Regions from separate parts of the Homo sapiens genome. Here region 2 is linked to region 1. Evidence: promoter capture Hi-C in human tissues and cell types (Jung and others, 2019). All regions are on one chromosome and are shown on one strand. Each heading gives the region's core, a stretch centred on a gene start or on the middle of the fragment in contact. The rest is flanking DNA. Distances are from core to core; before and after follow the strand shown.

Region 1 (5,687 bases), core at 1,404-3,903:
AGCCCAAGAAGTCTACCGATTTCTTTTTTATTTTATTTTATTTTATTTTTATTGAGACGCGGTCTCACTCTGTCACCCTGGCTGGAGTGCAGTGACATGATCACAGCTCACAGCAACCTCCACCTCCCAGGTTCAAGCAATCAATCCTCCCACCTCAGACTCTGGAGTAGCTGGGTACAGGCATGTACCACCATGCCTGGCTAATTTTTTAACTTTTTGTAGAGACAAGGGTCTCACTATAATGCCCAGGCTGGTCTCGAGGTCCTGGGCTCAAGCAATCCTGCCATGTCAGCTTTGGAAGTTTTGGGATTACAGGCGTGAACCACTGTGCCCGGCCTAGCCTGAGAATTCTAAACTGGAACCTGGCTTTCCAGATACCATGGTGTATTTTTTAAGGTAGGAGAAGAGAATGTGTCCTCTACGCTTTTTTAAGTTTGGTTTGCGGCTTGTGTGCATTTGGACACACCGCGTCACAAACAGCCTCGCCCAGGAGGAGTGAGGGCCACAGATCGGGAGGGTAGGGGGCCCAGAGCCTGGAGAGCCCCAGGCCGGGCTCACAGGTCAGGGTTTCACCTGCCGGCTCCCAGAAGGGAGTGGCCAACAGACACCAGGGAAGTCAGGGTTGGGATTCAAAGAGAGGCCAAGGCTGCAGAGAGACTGGGAGCCACTTTAGGAAAGAAACGTGAATTCAGGCTTTGCACAGCAGAACTGTCCCCATGTCCTGGGGAGGCCTTGGTTCATTCTGCGGGGAAATCCCTTGTGTCTTGCGGGGCCCCGCCTCTGATGAGAGGGAAGGGAGATAAGCTTTGCAGGGGGAAGGTTTCCTCCCGGTCTCCTCACTCTTCGAGCACTGAGTTTCTCCAGACAAAGCGCACTCCGCGGGCACCAATCCCTGCAGACAGCGCAGAGCGCACAGCGAGCAGGAGCCCAGAAACCAGCAGGTCGGCTTGTCCCTTGTCAAATCCAAGTGACAACGGACTTCCGGAAGCCACGCTGACACCTACTTTCTGGCTCGATCAGACCCCTGGACTTAAATTCCAGCCCAAGGGCTAGCACTGAAAGGGTGGCTATTTCAGCAAACGACCAAAGCTTCTAAAGTAGACACTTTCTTTTAAACCACTTGATGGCTGGATTTCTTAGAGAGAGAGACTAAAGCTGGAGGAAGGGTTCTTCCAGGGATGGCACAGGCCCTCCGCTCTCGGGCTCCCCACACTAGACTTCGGGCCGGCAGGATGGGTTAAGGTAGCACTCGTTGGAGTCAATAATTAAGCAATGGAAACAAACAGCCTAAATAAGGGTGTTGAGGACTCAGGAGAAGGTGGCTGATTAATCTCAGGCTCATAGTTTGAAATGGGAGCGCAGGGGCTGGGCTGTGGCCTCCTCATCTGCTCCCTGGGCGTGTGGCTGTGTAAAGAGGTGTGGGGACCCACAAGAAGGCCGAGGAGCAGCACTGGGGTGGAGAGAGCAGTGGGGAGGCGGGGACCCAAGGGTTAAAAAAAAAAATTCCTCAATTTGGAAACATTTGCAAAACTCCAGAAGAAAAACTTTTAAAAGTTCTCCACTCCCTTCCAAACGTACAAACATGCACACACACAATTAGGAATTTCCCAAAGTTTTCATCTGTCTAAAAAGAAAGTGCCAGTGCAAATTACAGAACATCGTCGCTTCCTCATGTGCGGCGTTTCTACGGGCCTGGGAGGGGACGCAGAGGCTACCCCGGTGGTCCCAGCCTGCAGCGTTCACGTGAGGAAACTTCCGCAAAAGCCCTGATGCATGCACATTCTGACTGCAGAGGCCAGAGCATCCCGCATTTTGGAGGCTGAAAGGCTCCCCTAGGATAACCTTTTCCGTTAACAGAGGAGTCCGCTGAAGCGCAGAGCTAACTGAAAACAGCTAGAATTAAAATCCAAGTCACCCGGCCGGCATCAGCAGTCATTCCTTTCCACCACACAAAACTGGCCAGGAAGACGGACTCTGGCGCGCCCTCCCAGGCCGAAGCGCATTTCTTCGCTAACGCGCGAGGAGTAGGCTGCATAGACCCGGCGCAGGAGGTGTTCATTTTCGGATCCAGCCCTGTAGTCACTTTAGCTAAACCCGGTTCCAAAGGGGTGGGAGTCGTCGGAGAGGAATGGCCTCTGTATCTCCGGAGACGGAAACACCAGGACGAAGAGGCCCTAAGAACGTGTGCCCGGGGTGCGACCGGGGGGTGGGGGGCAGGGGGCAGAGACCCTGAAAAGCTCCACCGCCGAACCCCAGGGCAGTGTCCCGGCTTGGCTGGACTGGGCGCGGGCGGCTGCAATGCTCCCGGGCGCGGCGCTGGGACCCCGCGGGCCACGTCGGCTCCGCTGCCCCGACGCCAGGGCCCGACTCGCGTCTCCCTCTGGCGGGGCACCACAAGGGGCAGCGAAACGGTGGTGGGGGCGGGCGCCGCGCTCCTTCCCGTCTCCTCCCCGCCAGCTCCGGGCCCGTCCTTTTCCGCCCGGCTCCCGGCAAGGGTCCCCCGACTGGCGCCCGCGCGTCCTCCCTCGGCTGCTGCAGGCCGGGCCGCGGCGTCGAGCGGGGGCGGCGGGGCGGGGCCCGCAGCCATTGGCGAGCGGCGGGGCGGGGGCGGGGGCGCGGAGGGTCGGCCCCGGGACGCGCGCAGCCGGCCCGCAGTTGCCGCTGTCGTCCGCAGAGCCAGTTCCTAGCGCAGAGCCGCGCCCGCCATGAGGGAGATCGTGCACATCCAGGCGGGCCAGTGCGGGAACCAGATCGGCACCAAGGTGGGCCTGGCGCGGTGCAGGGCCTCTCCGCGGGTCGGCTGCTGGCGGGCCCCGGGTCTCCCGGCGCGACCCCCGCCGGGGCGCGCACCCGCTGTGCGCCCCTGGGTCCTCGGAGCCCGGTGCGGACCCGCGAGGGCCGCAGGGAGGGAGCGCCCGGGGCGTGGCCGGCCGGGGACCTTCTACTCTTCGCTCCCCACCCCCATCCCAACTGGGAGCGGCTGCCGGCGGCTCAGGCGCGCCTGGAATTCGGCCGCCGGGGCGCCTGGGGTGGGCGCGGGTGGCGGCGTCCCGGGCTCTGGGTTCTGAGCGTCTGTCCCCCCGCCTTGCCCTGCCCAAGTTTTGGGAAGTGATCAGCGATGAGCACGGCATCGACCCGGCCGGAGGCTACGTGGGAGACTCGGCGCTGCAGCTGGAGAGAATCAACGTCTACTACAATGAGTCATCGTGTGAGTAGCAAGGCCGCCGCGCCCTGCCCGGCCGGGACCCGCGTGGACGCTCCGGCGCCGCCTCTTAGCGCGGCGAGTTTGCTTCGGGAAAAGTTCTCTCGGGGTGTAGCAGGATGCCCGGCCACTCCCTTCGCTCCTCCGGGGCGGGAAATCCGCCGTCAGTTTATTCAAACAGCTCGATTCAGCCTATCCTGAGGGTCTGAGCGCTTGAACGGGACCACCCGTTAGCGTTGTGAAATCAACGTAGCGGTTCCTGCCCAGCCTTCTCTGTCTAGCCGGGCGCGGTGGCTCAAGCCTCTAATCCCAGCGCTTTGGGAGGCCGAGACTGGAGGATCATTTGGGGCCAGGAGTTCAGGACCAGCCTGGGCAGCATAGGAGACCACCCCCCGCCCCCCTCCCGCCCCGATCTCTACAACAATTTTAAAATTAGCCGGGCTTGGTGGCCCACCCCTGTAGTACCAGTTAACTGAGGGCTTGAGCTCAGGAGGTCGAGGCTGCAGTGAGCTGTGATCGCGCCACTGCACTCCAGCCTGGGTGACAGAGCGAGACCCTGTTAGAATAAATTAGAGCGTTTCTCAAGGATCCTTGGGAAAAACAAAGCTTCCCCCCCCCCCCCCCCAGTTTAAAACGTATCTCTTATTGGGGATTCTTGGCTAAAAATTTGAGAAACGCTCTCTTAAGTGACTTTTCTGGTCCCTTGCAGACCTCTAAAAAGACTTTAACCTCCCTGGAAGCTGAAACTCCAGGCAGTTCTCAGCAACGAGTGGAGTTTTATTCATTTACGCAGCAATGACAAAAGGCTGGGAACATCAGGGCATGGAAGATGAAATTTCTAGAGGACACTAAGGATAGTTCCAGTATACACTGCACTTCATGTTAATCCCTCACCCAGCTTGGGTACATCCATTTTCGATCTTGGCGAGTGCACTGCAGGACAGGAGTTGAAGAGCAGGTCCTATCTGGAATCATATTAACCGTGTCCTCACCGGGAACAAGTTCTAGCCCAATTGGCATGAAATTTCCACACAAGAACACTCTGACTCAAAATGAGAGTGACTCTGGGGAAACAGCCAGTGGCGTGCTCCGGGTAACAAGGTTCTCAGACTGCACATGGGCACATGTATGTGTATGCATGGGGGAGGTGTCACAAAGCAGAGAATTTCATCCAAACCTGGCAATTTGCTGTAAATACCTAGTTTATTTCCATGGAGCTAAAGTTGTAAAACTTCCTAACAGGAAAGAGGTGTCAGGGTGAGCTGGAAAATACAGTAGGCAGGAAGTCAGGGGACTTGATTTCTCATCCTGCCTCTTCCTGGAACCTCCTCTGCCAGGTCATGCCTGGACTCGTTCCTCATTCCAGTGTTAAGGTTCTAGGATTTTTTTTCTTTCTTTTTTTTAAGAGACAGGGTTTCGGCCAGGCACGGTGGCTCACCCCTGTAATCCCAGCACTTTGGGAGGCCGAGGTGGGCAGATCACAAGGTCAGGAGATCGAGACCATCCTGGCTAACACGGTGAAACCCCATCTCTACTGAAAATACAAAAAAAATTAGCCGGGCGTGGTGGTGGGCACCTGTGGTCCCAGCTACTTGGGAGGCTGAGGCAGGAGAATGGCATGAACCCAGGAGGCGGAGCTTGCAGTGAGCCGAGATCACACCACTGCATTCCAGCCTGGGCAACAGAGCGAGACTCCATCGCAAAAAAAAAAAAAAAAAGACAAGGTCTCACTCTGGAGTACAGTGGCATAACCATGGCTCACTGCAGTCTTGACCTCCTGGGTTCAGATGATCCTGCCACCTCAGCTTCCAGAGTAGCTAGGACTAGAGGTGCACACTACCACACTTAGCTAATTTTCTTGGTTTTTTGTTTGTTTGTTTTTAGAAACAGGGTTTTGCTCTGTTGCCCAGGCTGGTCTTGAACTCCTGGGCTCAAGCGATCTGCCCACCTCAGCCTCCCAATGTGCTGAGATTACAGGGATGAGCCAGTGCGCCCAGCCAATTCTGTGATTCTAAGAAAGTTCCTGTACCCTTTCTGAAAAGACCCTGGTTGATCCATTCCAGGCAGCTAGAACTGGTGGGACTTGAAACGGGGAAGTCAATTACTTTAGAAACCTGAAAGTAACTCTTGTGGGTGGTTCTTTTCTCCTCCAGCTCAGAAATATGTGCCCAGGGCCGCCCTGGTGGACTTAGAGCCAGGCACCATGGACAGCGTGCGGTCTGGGCCTTTTGGGCAGCTTTTCCGGCCTGACAACTTCATCTTTGGTAGGTTCCATCTTTCTCACTTTCTTCTTCTTCTTTTATTTTTTTAAATCAAATATTTTATATGCCAGATTTAAAGCATCATGTGTCATAGAAAAAGTGTGAATGGAAATCAGTGGTTCCCAGCCCCACCCCTCCCATCCCTAGCTGGGTTCATCACAAGGAACAGTTTTTTTTAAATCTTGACTTTTTTGGTGGGAAGGAACCTCTATATCTCTAAATGA
Region 2 (5,619 bases), core at 127-2,626, 590 kb after region 1:
AAACCTTTCTCTATCTCCAAGCACCAGTGTCTCAGTGTTTGGCCCCAGCTGCTCATGGGGTACACAGGTCTGAGTTTGGGGTTCTACAATAGAAGTACAGTCCTAGCAAATCAAGCTGCATTGAACCATTCCAGAGGACAAAGGGTGGCATAAAAATCTGTTGGAAGAGAAGTTACCAGAGAGTGACAGATATATACTTTACCACGTTGTTAAGATAAATATCACAATTTTGCCTTGATTAGTCTTGGAAGAAAGAATAAATAATGGATAAAGGAAGATGAAAACTAGGTGACTTTGATCAGTATTCTAAAAATGATTCATGTGTCTTTTGTTGTTGTTTTAGAGACAGGATCTCATTCTGTCTCCCAGGCTGGGGTACAATGGTGCGATCATAGCTTACTGCAGACTCCAACTCTTGGGCTCAAGAGAGCCTCCCATCTCAGCCTCCAGAGCTGGGACTACAGGCATGTACCACGCCCGGCTAATTTTTAAATTTCTTTTGTAGAGATGGAGTCTCACTATGTTGCCCAGGCCAGTCTCAAATTCCTGGCTTCAAGTGATCCTCCTGCCTTGGCCTCCCAAAGCATTGGGATTACAGGTATGCGCCACCATGCCAGTCCCTAAAATGATTAGTTCTTGAGTACTTTGTTAGAACCATATTCCTTTGTATGTGTTAGATGGTTCTCAAGTCTCCTTAATTCTTGAAATCTAGAGCTTTTTATTTATTTTGATAATTTTGAGTCTGCATCCATCAGTGTCCCAGAGGATGTACAGTTGTGAAACCGTTGGCACACTAAGAAAGGTAATTAAAGAGAGTTTAAGGACAGAATGATTTACAGAGTTGTGGACAAGATTAGAAGAAATCTAAACACTCAGGGCTAAACACTCAGGGTTAACAACTGTGTGGAAATTCTACCAATCCATGGGTCTGAAGGTGCAGGGGACAGGAGCAGTTACCAAAACCCAGAGAGAGGGCAGGAGAGGGCTATCAGATGGGCAATGTGGCTTTCTGTGAAGGAGCACAGCCACAGCAGGCCCATGGCTTTGGCAGGAACACACACTGTATTCCTTTCCTACTGCTGCTGTGACAAATGACCCCAAGGAGTCCAGGGGCCCTGGCTCATATTCAACTAGTATGAGGGCTCATAGAAGTGAAACAGTGTTGAAGCAATTAAAGCTTCTCCAGCTCAGCTTATCACATCTGAATTCAAGACCTTGTCTATAGGCCAGGCGTGGTGGCTCACGCCTGTAGTCCCGGCACTTTGGGAGGCCGAGGCGAGTGGATAACCTGAGGTCAGGAGTTCGAGACCAGCCTGGCTAACATAATGAAATCCCATCCTACTAAAAATACAAAAATTAGCCGGGCTTGGTGGTACGCCCCTGTAATCCCAGCTACCCGGGAGGTTGAGGCAGGAGAATCGCTTGAACCTGGGAGGCGGAGGTCGCAGTGAGCCGAGATTGTGCCACTGTACTTCAGCCTGGGCAACAAGAGCGAAACTCCATCTCAAAAAAAAACACAAAAAAACCTTGTCTATAAAACTGTCTTCTTTCCCTGTTTTCCCTATCACAGCTAATGGCATCACTTATTCAACCAAGCTACAAACCTGGAAGTCATCTTCAACATCTCTCTATCCTTTATCTTCTGTGTCTAATGGGTCGCTGGTTTCTGTTGCTTCTTGCCTCCCAAGAAATCTCTCAAATCAATGCTCTGCTCTCTGTCTCCCCCTGCTGCTGCCTTAATAAAGATTTCATCCTCTTCCTGTCTCCTGCTCTATCCTGATGCTCGACCTTGGGTACCACCATTGGGTACCAGTATGGTGCCTGATTATAGTAGATGAAAAGTCAATGTGGCCGGGCACGGTGGCTCACGCCTGTAATCCCAGCACTTTGGGAGGCCGAGGTGGGCGGATCCCGAGGTCAGGAGATTGAGACCATCCTGGCTAACGTAGTGAAATCCCGCCTCTACTAAAAATACAAAAAATTAGCTGGGCGTGGTGGTGGGCACCTGTATTCCCAGCTACTCGGGAGGCTGAGGCAGGAGAATGGCGTGAACCCAGGAGGCGGAGCTTGCAGTGAGCCGAGATCGCGCCACTGCACTCCAGCCTGGGTGACAGAGCAAGGCTCCGTCTCAAAAAAAAAGAAAAGAAAAGAAAAGTCAATGTGATTGCAAGAATAACAGTGAATCTTTGTTGGACGTTCTATTGTTTCCAAATTTCCTATTACATAAAAATGTTGTAATATCTTTTTCAGACATAACTCGTCCCTTTTTTTTTTTTTTTTTTTTGATGGAGTTTCGCTCTTGTTGCCCAGGCTGGAGTGCAATGGTGCGATCTCGGCTCACCACAACCCTAGTCTCCCAGGTTCAAACGATTCTCCTGCTTCTGTCTCCTGAGTAGCTGGGGTTACAGGCATGCGCCACCACATCCGGCTAACTTTGTATTTTTAGTAGAGACGGGGTTTCTCCATGTTGGTCAGGCTGGTCTCGAACTCCCGACCTCAGGTGATCCGCCCGCCTCATCCTCTGAAAGTGCTGGGATTACAGGCGTGAGCCACCGCGCCCGGCCCACCTCTCTTCTTTTGAAGGACTTTTCCTTTGGATAAATACCCAGAAGTGTAATTATTGGTCCAAAAGTTTATTAGTTATCTCCATTTGGATTTGTCTAGAAGCAAACCCTGAGATGGAGATTTGAGTCCATTTGAGATTTGAGATGGAGTCTTACATGGGAGGTGATGCCGGGAAACACTAGTAAGGGAGAAGGGAAGGGAAACAGGGAAAAGAAGAAAGCGTGTTTATTAACAACCAGTTAGCACTGTGGGCAACAAGAGGACTTCCAGCCTGCTGGGAAACTCTGGGGGGTGGGGGGCAGTAAAGAACATACTGTCAAAGTTTCCAGACCAAAGGGCAAGGAAACTCAGTTTTAACCACTAACTCCCCACCTGTCATGGTTTGAAGACTGTTTCTAGAGCTACTTAGCTCTCTGCCACTCCTACTTTGCCCTGTATGTAAGCTGAGCTTGTTTCCATGGCCAGAAAAAAAAAATTAAAGCAGAAAATAGCCTCTGGATGTAGAAGTACATGCTGAAGGTATGTGGGAAAGGTGCTTAAAGCACCTGCTGCTATTTTTTTTTTTTTTTTTTTTGAGACAGGGTCTTGCTCTGTCACCTCTGCGGAGTGCAGTGGTACAATCTCAGCTCACTGAAACCTCTACCTCTTAGGCTCAAGCAATCCTCCCACCTCAGCCCCCTGAGTAGCTGGAACCACAGGCGTGTGCCACCATGCCCAGTTAATTTTTGTATTTTTTGTAGAGAGGGGATCTTGCCGTGTTGCCCAGGCTGTTCTTGAACTCCTGGACTCAAGTCATCCACCTGCCTTGACCTCCCACAGTGCTGGGATTACAGGTGTGAGCCACTGTGCCCAGCCAGATATTTTTATAGCTTTTGAAATCCACTGTTAAATTGCTGTATGAAAGAATAGAATCAATGTAATGCTATAGGCAGCGATTTAGAACTATATGTTTGCCCACATCCCTATGAACCCTCCCAACTTGGCCTCCTGGAGTGCTGGAATTAAAGGCATGAGCCACCGTGCTTGGCCTGGTTCCTTTTTATCCACAACTACTTCCCACTTCTTACTATTTTATGCTTATGTGCATATCAGGCTGCTTCTGAAATGAAATACTATTATGTTAATAAAAAACACAAAAGAATTGATATTGTTGCAAAAACATACTTTCTCCCAGGTGAAACAGAGTCCAGACAGTTTTAATTAACATTTCTTTGACTAGAAAAATTTACATGAAGTATATTGTATATTCTTGTTATGAGGAGACACATTCAAATCCCTGAATCTTAATTAGTTCATAGCCATATGAATGATCATCTCTGAGCACCTTTCACTTTCCGCTCTGGGGCTTCTCTGATGCTGTGACTTGCAACACCTAAACGAACACACAATTCACTGAAACATTCTTAACTCAGATGTGCAGAGGAGTTAGCACCAGTGGCACCACTCTTTTTTTTTTTTTTTTCTGTGCACATCCACCTTTAATAGCTTCTTCCGTCACTCTTTAGATCCAATTACTAAAGTCTTATTGAATCCAAAATAGATCACATCATTTACCTGTAAAGAGGAAAAATACCCTAAAAACATTTGTGGAAAAGGTTAAAAATTGTAAGCCATACTAACGATTTGTAAGAACTTTAGAATTTTTTTTTTTTTAAGCAAAGGCAGCTACCAAAGTGTTCTGGGCGGGGTGGGGGGGGGGGCGAGGGAGGTGAGTATGAGTGGAGTTGGACCCTTATAAAGGGACAGCGACAAACACCTCATACTCAAAACAAGGGGACTTCCCCTGTCATTTGCGCCGTCGGGCCACTGCAAATGTCCGTGCTGAGATGCCTACGTTGTCACTCGACACAGCCGCCAAAGCTCACCCGGAGCTGCGTCAGTCCCCACTGGGTTCCTCCAGGCCAAGGAGGTACGACCTCCGCCGCAGCATATAAAGTAAATGTCCAGGACATGGGAAGAAACCCGCCGATACAGCACCCGGGTGCCCAAGCCCCCGAGAACTAGGCCGCGCGGGTACTACGGGGCCAGAAAGCCCGGGCCAGGGCGGGCCCACGAGCGAGCACCGTCGGGAACAAACCGGGAGAAAGAGGAAGAGCCGGCGCCAAAGGTATCCCGCCCACCGCGGTCCCCCCAGAACTCTTCCTGCGCTTGCAAGCGCCACGCTGCCCACAGGACTGCGCCAGCCGGCCGGCGCCTCAACAGAGCGCGCCAGGGAGCAGCGCCCGTCGGGAGCCAAGACGCCTGAGCCATCGAGGCCGCCGCCGGGCCAGGTCGAGGCCGCCGCCGCCGCCGCCGCCGCCGCCGCCGCGGCACCACTCTTAACCGATGTTGATTTCCCCTTTCACACCCCAGGAAGGCAATTATTTGATTTTTTTTTGTTTTGCTTTTGTTTTGTTTTGTTTTGAAACAAGGTCTTGCTCTGTTGCCCAGGCTGGAGGGCAATGGTGTGATCATGGCTCACTGCAGCCTTGACCTCCCGGGCTCAAGTGATCCTCCCACCTCAGCCTCCTGAGTTGCTGGGACTAGGTGCATGCCAACATGTCCAGCTAATTAAAAAAAAGTTTTTTTGTAGAGATAAGGTCTCACTATATTGCCCAGGCTGGTCTTGAACTCCTGAACTCAAGGGATCTTCCTGCCTCAGCCTCCCAAAGTGCTGGGATTATAAATGTGAGCCACTGCACCGAGCCTCCAGGTGGCCGATTCTCGGATGCATTTCTCATGGCTCCTTAGAAAGTCCCAGTGGGGGCCGGGCGTGGTGACTCATGCCTGTAATCCCAGCACTTTGGGAGGTCAAGGCGGGTGGATCACCTAAGATCAGGACTTTGAGGCCAGCTTGACCAACATGGTGAAACCCCATCTCTACTAAAAATACAAAAATTAGCTGGGTGTGGTGTCAGGCACCTGTAATCCCAGCTACTTAGGAGGCTGAGGCAGAAGAATCTCTTGAACCCAGGAGGCGAAGGTTGCAGTGAGCCAAGATCGTGCCATTGCACTCCAGCCTGGGTGACAGAGTGAGTCTCTGTCTTAAAAAGAAAAAGAGAGAGAGAGACAGAC

Evidence for each region. The method cuts DNA at HindIII sites, captures the fragments that hold promoters and counts their contacts. A contact is called where the count stands out against the background at its distance.
Region 2: a fragment that was not itself captured here is called in contact with the fragment with the promoter of TUBB6 in region 1 in 2 of the 25 tissues and cell types used here (aorta and bladder).

Annotation. Positions count from the first base shown.
Region 1 is chr18:12,305,588-12,311,274 of GRCh38, forward strand. TUBB6 (tubulin beta 6 class V) reads left to right here and starts at 2,654. Exons shown (of 4, transcript NM_032525.3): 1 at 2,654-2,762; 2 at 3,100-3,208; 3 at 5,356-5,466. The coding sequence starts at 2,706. RefSeq lists silencers at 2,140-2,629, 2,720-2,819, 2,840-3,189. The HindIII fragment of the contact is 9,027 bases long and covers 1-5,687 here.
Region 2 is chr18:12,892,265-12,897,883 of GRCh38, forward strand. No RefSeq gene overlaps it. Among named protein-coding and RNA genes, the nearest start is that of PTPN2, 11 kb to the left of the region's middle. The HindIII fragment of the contact is 5,179 bases long and covers 1-3,966 here.